Regions from separate parts of the Homo sapiens genome. Here regions 2 and 3 are each linked to region 1. Evidence: promoter capture Hi-C in 16 types of primary human blood cells and fetal thymus (Javierre and others, 2016). All regions are on one chromosome and are shown on one strand. Each heading gives the region's core, a stretch centred on a gene start or on the middle of the fragment in contact. The rest is flanking DNA. Distances are from core to core; before and after follow the strand shown. Region 1 holds the start of ZP2 (zona pellucida glycoprotein 2). Region 2 has its middle 34 kb from the start of METTL9. Region 3 overlaps REXO5 (RNA exonuclease 5).

Evidence for each region. The method cuts DNA at HindIII sites, captures the fragments that hold promoters and counts their contacts. A CHiCAGO score of 5 or more calls a contact.
Region 2: a fragment that was not itself captured here is called in contact with the fragment with the promoter of ZP2 in region 1 in 5 of 17 cell types (naive B cells, total B cells, total CD4 T cells and 2 more); the score reaches 15.0 in naive B cells.
Region 3: a contact is called between a fragment that was not itself captured here and the fragment with the promoter of ZP2 in region 1, in 1 of 17 cell types (naive B cells). The highest score is 5.4, in naive B cells.

Annotation. Positions count from the first base shown.
Region 1 is chr16:21,208,591-21,213,316 of GRCh38, forward strand. ZP2 (zona pellucida glycoprotein 2) reads right to left here and starts at 2,984. Exons shown (of 19, transcript NM_001376232.1): 1 at 2,896-2,984; 2 at 2,717-2,805; 3 at 1,519-1,602; 4 at 1,041-1,135. The coding sequence starts at 2,957. The HindIII fragment of the contact is 1,261 bases long and covers 2,489-3,749 here.
Region 2 is chr16:21,563,400-21,567,811 of GRCh38, forward strand. No RefSeq gene overlaps it. Among named protein-coding and RNA genes, the nearest start is that of METTL9, 34 kb to the right of the region's middle. The HindIII fragment of the contact is 1,772 bases long and covers 1,682-3,453 here.
Region 3 is chr16:20,841,399-20,846,096 of GRCh38, forward strand. REXO5 (RNA exonuclease 5) reads left to right here. Exons shown (of 20, transcript NM_030941.3): 16 at 2,536-2,628; 17 at 3,231-3,447; 18 at 3,656-3,843. Among named protein-coding and RNA genes, the nearest start is that of REXO5, 37 kb to the left of the region's middle. The HindIII fragment of the contact is 2,208 bases long and covers 2,208-4,415 here.

The DNA.
Region 1 (4,726 bases), core at 1,734-4,233:
GCTTAGACAGGTTGCTTTTATTGCTCCTAATATTCCTGATTGGGCAATACTGTTGCTTGGCAATAGAAAAACCCTTACTGCTTAGCTGCTGTTTGCCTTTTAACACCTGTTTCTATAGGTCAGATTTCTATTTGCTAGCACCAAAATAGCCTTCCATCTCATGTTGGGGTTCACAGATCAAAATAGCTCGTGTTTCATCACTTGTTGTATCCAGGTTCTGCACCAGGTCTTAATCTGTAGAACATCATTAGTCTTCATTACCCCCATGGAGCAGGCACCATTACTCTCATCTTCTAATGGGCAAACAGGCTTGAAAGGGCTCACTTGGTGGAAATTACACCTGATTAGTGGTAGAGCCAGGGCTCAAGGGCTCAAGTACTTGAATGCCAGGGTTTCTCATCCTCAACACTGACATCTCAGTCCTGGTAATTCTGTGTTATGGGGAGGAGACTTGGGTAATGTTGGTTGTCTGCCAGCATCTTTGGCTTGTATCCATTAGATGCCAGTAGTAGCTCTTCTACCTTCAGTTGTGATAACCAAAGATGTTTCTAGATGTTGTCAAATGTCCCCTGGACAGATTCCCCCCACCCTCCTCCAGACAGTTTTGCTCTTGTTGCCCAGGCTGGAGGGCAATGGAGCAATCTCAGCTCACTGCAAACCTCTGTCCCCTGGGTTTAAGCGATTCTCCTGCCTCAGCCTCACAAGTAGCTGGGATTACAGGTGTGTGCTACCACACCCAGCTAGTTTTTTGTATTTTTAGTAGGGATGGGGTTTCACCATGTTGGCCAGGCTGGTCTCAAACTTCTGACCTCAGGTGATCCACCCGTCTCAGCCTCCTAAAGTGCAGAGATTATAGGCGTGAGCCATCACACCTGGCCTAGACAGATTATAATAGAAAAGAAGAGCCACACACGAGACACCACCCCCTTGGTTGAGAGCCACTGCTTTACTCCAAAGAGAAAGTTCTTAGCCAAGTTTACTGCCAGTAACTCTTAGGTTACTACGTACTTCCCCAAGAACTGCTCAAAGCAATGACTTACCACTCTCCTGGTACAGTTATCATAGGTAGCCCTCAGGGTGAGCTTTTCTGGGTCCAGGATGTAAGTGCAGTTCGGCATGTCGAGACCAAGAGGATCTGCCAAGGCCAGAGCAGGTTAGACAGGATGGCTGAGTACATTTCAGTGACAGTCCAAAGCTATAGAGTCAAGACCACCAGTCCATTTCTAAGGTACTTCAGTCCCTTCACTTCCGCCCCAACTCAGTGATAGAACTTGAGCTTTGAGATGGTATGACTTGCAGCCAGAGGCTTCCCAGAGATGCTGGCATAAGACACACTTTCGAAGACAGACAGGTCTTCCATGCTGGGTGGCTTCATGCAAATCAGGTATCCCCATGGCATCATGGGAGTTGGATGCCGTTGCTGCAGGAGTTTGGGTACTCTGCTCCCCAAACAGGATTGACCTAAGCCAAAGGCTGTCTGCTAATCAGGACTATGAGGAGATAACACACGTTACCTACCCACCACAGATGCATGCCATTTCTTGGTGCCAGGACTGCTTGGGAACTCCACTGTTATTTCCCTTTCATCGCAAGTGACAGTGCCTAAGGAGCAAAGGAAGCATTTGGGGGCTTTGAGTCATGAGTGATGCAACTCCTACAAAAGTGTATAGACTCCTCTCAGATGGGAGGGATTCCAGATGAGGGAGGCAAGAATCGTCCCCTACCCTGGGAGAGCTCACAAACAAGTGACCAAGACAACAATACAATATGCCAAGAACTGTAAGGAAAATATCAGGTACCCAGGGCTTTTGAAGTGTTCCAGTAAGAAGCCCAGGTTAGGGTTGACAAGCAGGTCTGTAGGAGCCAGGTCAACACCTTGACAGTGGAGCAGATGGAGGCAGGCCCGAAAAACTGACAAAAGCTTTGTCAACAGGTTTTGCAAATTGATGTTAAACAAAGTCCTGGGTAAGTCCCAGGACTTTTATTTATTTATTTATTTATTTTGAGACGGAGTCTCTCTGTCACCCAGGCTGGAGTGCAGTGGCACGATCTCAACCCACCTCAACCTCCGCCTCCCAGGTTCAAGCGATTCTCCTGCCTCAGCCTCCCAAGTAGCTGGGATTACATGTGCCCACCACCACACCCAGCTAGTTTTTGTATTTTTGGTAGAGATGGGGTTTCACCACATTGGCCAGGCTGGTCTCAAACTCCTGAGCTCAGGTGATCTGCCCGCCTTGGCTTCCCAAAGTTCTGGGATTACAGGCGTGAGCCCCGGCGCCTGGCTGCATTTTTTTTTTTTTTTTTAAAGATCAAGTTTTGCCCATCATCTGCTACTCTGCAGCCTCTGGCTCAGGTGAACGTCAAGTGAGCAGCTCCAGTTTTGCTTGTTATGTCGATGTTTTCCTTAAGCATGAGTTTGTGTTTGAAGATTGCTGCTCCTAAAGATGAGGGCTTAGTGTGGTGGTTTGCTGTTCTGTGGATACCATAAAGCTTGAGGCAGTGAGGGATTGGAAGGCAGTGCAAGTGTTTGAGTTTTCATTTAGCAGGTATAGTGAGTCTACAGGTTAGCAGAAGAAAGATCCAGTAACCTGACCAAGGTAATAAAGGGGGTGAATGGAGGTTGTCTGAGCCAGGCCTGTGTTTCTTGGCCAGCTAGGCCTTCCAGCTGCAACCTGTTTTCTCTGCTAAGAAGACTTCTGTCACCCAAGAGACATACCTGGAAAGGCAGGATTTACCAACTGAGAAACATCTATGGAGTTCCCTGAAGTCACAAGGGCGAAGAAGAGAGAAATCGACCTGTAGGTGCTGGAAAGAGACAGGGAGATAGTCAAGGAAGAATGGACTTTAACAAACAAAGCTACCATACCCCCTCCCTCCACTTCCAGAATTACTCACCTCCAGCCTGCATTGAACCAGCCTGAGGGACTCCAAGAGCCTCCTCTCTGCCTGCACGCCATAGCAGAAGACACTACCAGATCAACCAGGTAGAGGGTAGGCTGCTCTGTGTTTTTATAGCAGGAAGCCAGCCGCATCCACACCCTCTCCCCATTGGGGGCACCTGAATCTTGTCCCATTCTCCCAGCTGAAACGGAAGGATTGGGGAAGGAAGTGGCCTCTGATTCCTGACAGCTTGCGCCGGGTATTCTGCCAGCTGCCCTGTGGGCCAGGCATGAAATCAGAGTTTGCTGAAATCAGCTCCAGGTGAGTGAATTGGTGTTTTCCCTATAACTATGGGGGAAATTAGGATCTTTTGGGCAAATTATTTACAACTGCAATGTAGAGCCAAAGAGAATCATGGGCTTTATTGAGAAAAAAACAAGTCTTGTTCACACCACTACATTTTTTTTTTTTTTTTGAGATTCAGTTTCACTCTGTCACCCAGGCTGGAGTGCACTGGTGCAATCTCGGCTCACTGCAACCTCTGCCTCCTGGGTTCAAGCAATTCTCCTGCCTCAGCCTCCTGAGTAGCTGGGATTACAGGTGCACGCCACCACACCTGGCTAATTTTTGTATTTTGAGTAAAGATTGGGTTTCACCGTGTTGGTCAGGGTGGTCTCGAACTCCTGACCTAGGTGATCCACGTGCCTCGGCCTCCCAAAGTGCTGGGATTACAGGCGTGAGCCATTGCACCTACCCTAAAACCTTTTAAGTAACATCTAGTCTTCTGGCTACTGCAGAAGTTACCCTGATAATGCACAGGAAGTGTCTTTAAAAAAATGAATGAAGCCTTGTTGACCCCCAAGTGTAAAAGCTTAAGCTTACCGCAAAGATACAATTTCAGAAGGATACAGAGAAAAGGCAAAAGTCACTCATAATAGTGCCACTGCTAATATTTAGGTGAGTAACTTTAGACATGTTTCTACAAACACCACACACAATTTTTTTAAAACACTGGGAGGAAAGTTTAAATACTGTTTTGTAATCTGCTACTGTCACTTTATAACTATTAAACATAAAGCTCTCTGTTACCATTTTAGGGTGGCATAATATTCAATTTGAGATAAATCTGTGTTTATATAATTTCCTTAATTATGAGCATAAGGTGGCTTGTAATTTTTCATCATTATAAGCAGTAACATGATGAGCATTCTGATACATATCCTTGGGTAACCCTCAAGATAAATTCCTCAAAGTAAAACTTCTGGGTAAAAGGGAGTAGTGATCTAATAAGAATGTTATATTGTTGTAAAGCACTTGGAAGTTTCCCAGTGGGGAAACTGAGGCAAGGCAACTTGCCCCAACAATGTCAGGGACCAGGTGGAGAACTCAGATTTCCTGAGGCCTGATGGTTGTGTTTTTTCAACATCTCTCACACTCTTTGAGATAACTAGATGTCTGCAGCCCATGTTCCAAAATAGGTGGATATAAGGCTTAGACTCCATTCAAGTGGTGGGTGACACTTGCAATTATTAGGCTGGTGCAAAAGTGATTGCAGTTTTTGCCGCTACTTTTATGTATGTATGTATGTATTTGAGATGGAGTCTTGCTCTGTTGCCCAGGTGGGAGTGCAGTGGCGCAATCTTGGCTCACTGCAACCTCTGCCTCCTGGATTCAAGCGATTCTCCTGCCTCAGCCTCCCGGGTAGCTGGGATTACAGGCGCCCACCACCAAGCCCAGCTAATTTTTGTATTTTTGGTAGAGACAGGGTTTCACCATGTTGGCCAGGCTGGTCTCGAACTCCTGGCCTCAAGTGATCCAACCGTGTCAGCCTCCCAAAGTGCTGGGA
Region 2 (4,412 bases), core at 1,318-3,817, 350 kb after region 1:
GCCCTCTTAATAAATAAATATATAAATAGCTACCCAACCTGTACTATGATATTTTGTTATGGCAGCCCAAGCTAAGACATAGAGCCAGGCAAATAGTAAGCCTTCGATGCATCTCACACCATTATTCTTAAAAGGGACATGTCAGGCTGAGCCCAGAAAGGAGAAATTCCCTCTCTATTCTTGAAGTAGCAACAGTTTATAGGGACTCAAGTTTTCTTTTCACGAATTCGAAAGAAACTATACGGACACATTCACCTTACTGAGGTTTCTCTGGCCTTGTCCATTCTGAGCTCCTGTTTTTTCTGCAGAGGTGCTCATTGATACTGACTTGGTGATCTTGAAAGGATTCTCTGTATTTCTCTTTTTTTAAATAGAGATAGGGTCAGTCTTGCCATGTTTACCAGGCTGGTCTGAAACTCTTGGCCTCAAGTGATCCACCTGCCTCAGCCTCCCAAAGTGTTGGGATTACAGGTATGGACCACTGCGCTGGGCCAGGGTTGTCTGTTTTTATATGAATGACCATAAAGTTATTTCACTGATGCCATCAGGAAGCAACCTTATTAATTTTATGTATTTTTGAGCTGATGTTGATAGCAGAAGAGTGGAAAGGAGTCAGACTTTGCTTTAGTCTCGTGATGTAGAAGATCCTAAAGATAGGATTCAAGGTGAGAGTATGATCATTTATATGGCCCTCTTCACCTCACAGAGCTGAATTTACCAATAATTTGGCAGGTATAAGCTAGGAAAATGAAGTAAAAGGGTCCAGACAGTAATATTTTAGAATTCTGTTACCTGCGGGTGGATACTTTCTTCTTTTGAGAATAGAAGATTAGGCTGGGTGCAGTGGCTCATGCCTGTAATCCCAGCACCTTAGAAGGCTGAGGCAGGCAGATCACTTGAGTCTAGGAGTTTGAGACCAGCCTGGGCATCATAGCAAGACCCCGTCTCTACTAAAAATACAAAAAAAAAAAAGTAGCTGGCTGTGGTGGTGTGTGCCTGTAATACCAACTACTCAGGAGGCTGAGGTAAGAGAATCACTTGAACCCAGGAGGTGGAGGTTGCAGTGAGCCAAGATTGTGCCACTGCACTCCAGCCTGAGTGACAGAGCAAGACTCTGTCAGAAAAAAGAAAGAAAAGAGAGAGAGAGAAAGGAAGAGGGGAAGGGAAGGAAGGGAAGGAAGGAAGAGAGAGAGGAAGGAAGGAAGAGAGAGAGAGGAAGGAAGGAAGGAAAAGGAAGGAAGGAAGGGAACAGAAGATTAGTTGAGCATAGTGGCTCAGTGCCTGTAATCCCAGCACTTTGGGAGGCCGAGGTAGGCAGATCATTTGAGCCTAGGAGTTCAAGACCAGCCTGGGAAACATGGCAAAATCCCATCTCTACAAAAAATAGAAAAATTAGCTGGGCATTGTGGCATGCATCTGTAGTCCCAGCTACTTGTGGGGCTGATGCAGGAGGGTCACTTGAGCCCAGGAGGCAGAGGTTGCAGTGAAGTATGATTATGCCACTGCACTCCAGCCTAGGTGGCAGAGTGAGACTCTGTCTCAAAAAAAAAAAAAAAAAAAAGAAGATTGTGAGCAAAAATTGAATGCAATTTTTTTCATAAGCAGAGGTGTAATGGTTATTATTACAAAAGATGATATTAAATTTATTTATGTATTATCTCTTTGCCTCCACCAGAATGTAAGCTTTGTTGAAGGCAAGGATCATTGTTGATTTATTTACTCTGTATCCCAGGCATCTAAAACAGTAAGTGTGCAATAAATATTTGTTGAATGAATCAAAGCATAAGCAAGGCTTCAGATTCATTTTTCTATCAGAGATTCATTTAAAAATGTTAAGGAAATGAGAGGTGAAGACATCCTAAAGGCATAATACTCAAAGTAGTCAGTAGGTTCATTGATAACCCAGAGGAAAATATATAATATTATAGAGGAAAAGAAATTCTCTGAAATCATGGCATCTCTCCTAGCTTGGGATAACATTTTAGCAGAAAGACCGAAGAACTCTTCCAAGAAACATCAAGCAATTAAATGAAGTAGTAGAAAAATCACCAGTACTTTAAAGTAGATGAAGCCATTAAAATAGTTGCAGCTTCAGTAATCACCATGTAAGCCTGTAAGTGGTGGGTCTTAGACCACAACATGGTAGTTATCAAATTGCTTTATTCATCGAAATGTTCATTCTCCTGGCTGCCCTTGAACTTCCAGCCTAAGGCTTTCTCTCTGCAGGGTTGTCAGCATGCTCATGCAAGGCTTTGCCTCTGCAGATTATCAGAGGTGTACTCCATGCCCCTCTCACCATGAAAAAAGGGAGAAAAAGACAATTTCGTCTCAGAGATAGAAAATCTCCCAGAGAGAACCCCTGGCAGCTGGAATCCATTTTTTTCCCCCTGAAGCTGGAATCTGTTATAACTACAGAACACTGAAGGATAATGAGGTTCTGCTGCTAAGCAAATGCTGGGACAAAAAGCACAGAGGTGCTGCAGCCAGGCAGAGACTGGGCTTTTCATGAAACCCTGTGTCTCTGAGCACATATTGCAATAATTCTCTGACTAGCTGCTCAAGGCCTTGGCTTCGTGGCTTTTTACTCCGTTTAAAGGTCTTGATCAGGCCACTTCCGTTTTTAATGTTTGAGAAATGTCTGATTTATGCTGCTTCAAAGTGGAACTTGGGTTTCTATTACCTTTTTGGCACCTTGCACCCATTGTTGGCCTAATTCTGCTGTCTCGTCTATCTTGTGGTTCCTATCAGTAAACAAAGTCCAGGAGAGGCGTCATGCTTGTGAACACCTCCAACATCAAGTTCAAAAGTACAATCATGACCTTGTCCTGTCGTTCTCAGAATCTGGGCTCAGCTATTTCAAACCTCCCATGTCTTCACTGGTAGTGGTCAATTAGAAATCACTGAATCCTTTCCCTAGAGTGGTCAGAGACAGCCAGTTTATGGTAATTTGGGCACAAGTGCCAATTGGAAAGGTGCATTATTCAAACCACTTTGGCTACAAGTGACAGAAATTCAATGCAGGTTAGCTTAAATAAAAAAGGAATTCGGGCTGGGAACAGTGGCTCATGCCTATAATCCCAGCATTTTGGGAGGCCGAGGCGGGTGGATCACCTAAGGTCAGAAGTTCTAAACCAGCCCGGGCAACACGGTGAAACCCTGCCTGTACTATAAATACAAAAAATTAGCCAGGCATGGTAGTGCACGCCTGTAGTCCCAGCTACTCTGGAGGCTGAGGCAGAAGAATCACTTGAACCCGGGAGGTGGAAGTTGCAGTGAGCCAAGATCACGCCACTGTACTCCAGCCTGGGCGACAGTGAGACTCTGTCTCAAAAAAAAAGAAAAAAAGAAAAAAAAGGGAATTTATTGGCTTCTGTAGCTGAAAAGTCAGGCAGATTTGGATCTCAAATTATGTCATTAACTAGTTTCTCTGACTTACCCTCTGCGTTGTGTATAAGCTTTTCATCGCATGGCAGCAAGATACCTCCATGTTCACATAGGGCTAACAGCCCAAGATGGTGAGGAAACATGCACTTTTGTTCCAGTAGCACAGAAAAAGTCCCCAGGTGGACGCTAATGGGCACTGTATGAGTCAAGTGCTCATGGCTGAGGCAGTAGTTGTACCTTGACACATGAAGTCCTCTGACCAGATCTGGGCATGTACCTGACCTTGGGGATGGAAGTGAGGCAGTCCAGCTCCACCAACTCGTAAGGACTGAGACAGTTTACTAGGGAAGAGGGGAAAGCGTGTTTCTTACAGGAAGAAATGCGGGCAGACAAAACACCATATACCCCTTAAATTAGGTTTTCCACAGATAATTGAGGTGGAGCAGAAGGGTAACCACATTTTGACAGCATCATCAGTATGTGGTGAGTGGCCCAGCATTTGACCCTGGCCTCTGTGGTCATCTCAGAGCCCAGAAAGTAGCAGCAGAAGAGCAGAGCATGGGTAGGTAACCATCAGTTCTTGGATAACTGAAGGGTGATCTTGAGGAGCAGTGAGTCTGTGGGATGGCCATGCCTAACAAATGTCATCCAGTTCAGAGCACCAAGGACATTCCCAGCTATGGCTTTTATCTTTTATCTTCTTCTTCTTCTGGTTTTGCTCTGTCACCCAGGCTGGAGTGTAGTGGCATGATCTCGGCTCACTGCAACCTCTGCCTCCCAGGTTCAAGCAATCCTCCCACCTCAGCCCCCTGCGTAGCTGGGACTGCAGCTGAGCGCCACTACACCCAGCTAATTTTTGTATGTTTTGTAGAGATGGGGTTTCACCATGTTGATCATGCTGGTCTTGAAGTCCTAGGCTCAAGCAATCTGCCTGCCTTGGGCTCCCACAATGTTGGGATTACAGGCATAAGCCACCATGCCTGGCTCCAGCTGTGGCTTTTAGAGGAGGAGGTAGTGGTGGCCGGAGG
Region 3 (4,698 bases), core at 2,062-4,561, 370 kb before region 1:
ATGGAGGCCTCTAGGGGGAAGAATTAGGCAGCTAGCTAATGGGATTAGGGGAAGACTTCACTGTAAATATATTGTTCCTTTAGAATTCGGAACTAGGTAACTATTAAACTGGTGTATTACAATGTATGAAAGTGAAGTAAAAACACTTCTAAAGTGATCTAAGTGCAGGATCCTAGATATTTTAAAATGGCTGTCTCTAAATTTTTTAATTTAATTTTTATTTTATTTTTATTTTTGAGACAGAGGCCCAGGCTGCAGTGCAGTGGTGCCATCTTGGCTCACCACAGCCTCTGCCTCCCCAGTTCAAATGATTTCTCATGCCTCAGCCTCCCAAGTAGCTGAGACGACAGGTATGTGCCCCCACGCCTGGCTAATTTTTGTATTTTTAGTAGAGACTGGGTTTCACCATATTGGCCAGGCTGGTCGCGAACTCCTGACCTCAAGTGATCCACCTCCCAAAGTGCTGGGATTACAGGCATGAGCCACTGCACCCAGCTTCCAAATCTTTTATTAATGGCTTTTCTATGACTAAAAATAAAAATACAAAGATTGTCCCTGAGAAGATGGATTGGGGGATGAGAAGTGTATAGCAAGGGACTATAACATCTTCCTTTCTCTTGGCCCCTTTTTTTGGTTGCGGGGGTGGCGGGTAAAATACATATAAAATAAAATGTACCTTTTTAACCATTTTTAAGTGGCATTCAGTATGTTGATATTGTGCAGCTATCATCACCATCCATCTCTAGAACTTTTTCATCATCCCGAACTGAAATTTCCTATTAAGCAATAATTTCCTATTACCCCTCCCCCCAGCCCCTGGTAATCATTGTTTTACTTTCTGTCTTTATGAATTTGACTACTCTGTGTACGTACCTCACATAAGTGGAATCATACAATATTTGTCCTTTTGTGTCTGGTTTATTTCATTTAGCATGTCTTCAAGGTTCATTCATGTTGTAGCATGTATTAGAATTTCATTTTCAAGGCAAAATAATATTCCATTTCATGTATATACCACATTTTGTTTATCCATTTGTTGATGGACATTTGGGTTGTTTCTTGTTTCTACCCTTTGTTTTGTTTGTTTTTTTTTTTTTTGAGATAGGGTCTTGCTCACCCAGGCTGGAGTTCAGTGGCGTGATCACAACTAACTACAGCCTCAACCTCCTGGGCTCGAGCAATCCTCCCACCTCAGCCTCCTGCTGGGACCACAGGCATGCACGCCTGGCTAATTTTTTGTAAGACAGGGTCTCTCTATGTTGCCCAGGCTGATCTTGAACTCCTGGACTCAAGAGATCCACCCACCTTGGCCTCCCAAAGTTCTTGGATTACAGGCGTGAGCCACTGTGCCTGACCCTGGGTTGTTTCTACCTTTGACTATCATGAATAATGCTGCTATGAACATGGTTGTACACATATCTGTTCAAGTCCCTGCTTTCAGTTCTTCTGGGTGTATACCCAGAAGTGGAATTGATGGATCAAATAGTAATTCTATGTTTAATTTTTTGAGGAACCATTATACTGTTTTCCACAGTGGCTATACCATTTTACATTCCTACCAGCAAAGAACAAAGGTTCCAACTTATCTACATCTTCACTGACACTTGTTTTCTATTTTATTTAATAGTAGCCATCCTAATGGATGTGAAATGGTATCTCATTTGGGTTTGATTTGCGTTTCCCTAATGATTAGTGATGTTGAGTGTCGCAGGCAATTTGTACATCTTTTACAGCAAAGTCTATTCACTTGTTTGCCCTTTTTTTCTTATTTATTTTTTTCAGTTCCAGCTACTCTGCAGTGTTTGCCCATTTTTAAATCAGGTTGTTTGGCTTTTTTATTGTTGAATTGTAGGATTTCTCTGTACATTCTGGATATTAATCTTTTATTAGCTATGTGATTGCAACTATTTCTCCATTCTGTGGGTTGCTTTTTGACACTGCTGTTAGTGTCCTTTGATATACAAAAGGTTTTAATTTTTATGAAGTCTAATTTGTCTATTTTTAATTTTGTTGCCTGCCTTTGATGTCATATTCAAGAAACCATTGCCAAATCCAGTGTCATGAAACTTTTCTATGGGAAGGCTTTTATCTCCATATTGATGCTATGGCTCAGATAATCACAAAGATTTAGTTACTCCGAGTTAACAAACAGAAAAGCAGACCATTTGAAGATGTAGCCTATCCAGTGGAAGAACTTATCCTTCCCAAGCTTATAAAGTTAAGCCAAAAGACAAATGGGAATCTCTGCCCGTGACTTGCAGTGATGACTTTAGTGATGCATAATAAATATTATGAAAAGCCTGTTGGGTAGTTCCATTTTAAATGACAAAGTTATTTGTTGTCTGAAAGCTAGTTTCTGAACTTTGATGATCCCATTTAAAGTTGACAGTTTACAATCAATACTTGTGTAGCCCAGCACAGTAAAGGCATCCATTCTGGTGGCTTTGGCCACTGTAGTTTGAATCCTTTCCCCAACCCCTTCTTTAGCAGTTTGAGCTGGAAAGCAATGATGAGGAAATCTTGGTCTTTCTGCAGCCTCATCTCTGTATACAGTATGAAGTCCTAGAAGCTGCCCAGCTGGCCATAGAATCCTTGGATGGTATTCTGGTAGATGGTATCTGCATCAAGGTAGGGTGACAAGAGAAAGCCCCCTTTGCTTGGGTCTGGCCTACCACAGCCTGTATTTATAGTGCCCCAGGACATATAGGAAACACTCTCAAGAGGCCCACGCACAAGACTTTGTTATGGAAAGTCTTCAGCCAAGTCTAACATTCTCCTACTGGCAGTGATTGAAGACATAACGGCTTTCATTTGTGTCAGAAATCATCCTGGGCTAGATTTGGGTCTTCCTTGCATTCTTTGTTACTACTTAAGTCCCCTGTGGTTTATTCTGGTTGGTTCTTTGTGGTTACCCTTTTCTTCACCTTTCAGGGAGATCAAATGGTGGTATTTTGAAGTTTCTTGTGCACATAAACAGAATTTCATTAAGGGTGGGAGGCAGGAAACTGAAGAGAATATGTTTACATGAAAATATGTATTTATCAATTAAGTCTCTAACATAATTCTGTGAGGCCATTATCTTTAGTTTCCTTTTACAGAAAAGAAAAGAAACGGAAAATTTTAGGAAACTGAAAAATGAAGTTATTAGTAATGGCAACAACTTGCTAGTATCCAATAGGCCTGAGGATTAAATTGATTTTCTACCACTAACACCAACTTTCCTTGGTTAGGTGCAGAGGCCTGTGACAGAGCTCACGCTTGATTGTGACACCCTCGTGAATGAGCTGGAAGGAGATTCTGAAAACCAAGGCTCTATATATCTGTCTGGAGTGAGTGAAACCTTCAAAGAACAGCTATTGCAGGAGCCCCGCCTCTTTCTTGGCCTGGAAGCTGTGATCTTGCCTAAAGATCTTAAAAGTGGAAAGCAGAAAAAATACTGTTTCCTGAGTAAGTCTATGCTACTGAATGTAGCTTTGGGGAAGGAAACTGGGGATGGTGATAACATGAGGTCAGAGAAAGGAAGATTCACCTCCTGGGCTGGACCAGGGCAGCAGTTCCTGATTCTGTCCTTCTCCTTTGACCCTGGCCAGGCAGCTTGGATGGTGATCAGCTTTCTTGGCCCTTAATAACATAAGGTGGGGGTTCTTGCTTTCAGAATTCAAAAGTTTTGGCAGTGCCCAGCAGGCCCTCAACATTCTCACAGGCAAGGACTGGAAGCTGAAAGGCAGGCATGCCCTAACCCCCAGGCACCTCCATGCCTGGCTCAGAGGCTTACCACCTGAATCAACAAGGCTCCCAGGGCTTCGTGTTGTACCTCCCCCCTTTGAACAGGAGGCCTTGCAGGTGAGTGAGTGAAGGCGTCTTGGAGAAGATGTCAGGAGAGTCCTGCTCAGTGACACTTAATCCTTTAATCTTTTTTTTTTTTCTACCCTGGCCCTCAGTCTTATTTCACTCTCCAGCTTCCTCCAGTCCTGGCCACATCTTTTCTCGCAGATCTCTCATACTTTTGCCCCCACCATACCTGCTAAACTTAGTTTTTTAGTCTTCCAGATCTCCAAGGGACTTTGAAGGACAAAGGCAGGAAGTCAGAGAGCTGGACAATTATTCAGTGATCTAGTCTAGGGTTTCCCAAAGTGTGGTATATACACAAGATAAATTGTGGTTGTCATAGATGGTCTTTTCTTTTTTGTTTTCACTTTTATGATTATGGACTTGTCCGTCTTTTTATTATATCTAAGACATCTGAATGGACTTGTTTTGCTAATACTTGTTAAAGTATACAATAACTACATTGAGCCTATGATTTTGTGGATGGCATTAGTTAGACAAGGCTAAGGAAGAAATTAACTCACTTTATGGAAAAATGTTAGAGGGATATACAAGCAGAAGAGTGGAGGTAGAAGGTAAATGGCTGAAGCTTGGGAAACCCTGTCTTAGTCTAATCTCTCATACTTAACAGATGAAAAGTAGGGGCTAGAGTTGGTAAGTCACTTGCCCAAGGTCACAAAGAGACTTAATGGCAGAAGCCAGACTAGACCCCTCATCAGCAATGTGGCTCCCCTAGCTTGGGGTCTTGGAAGACCCATGTGGAGGAAAGGACAGTAGCTGTCCTCCCCTGAGGAAGTCCTTAGCCAACTTGGAGGCCTGGGGATGCTGGGTCAGCAGAGAACCTGCAGTGTGGGCTCCAGTGTTAGAAAA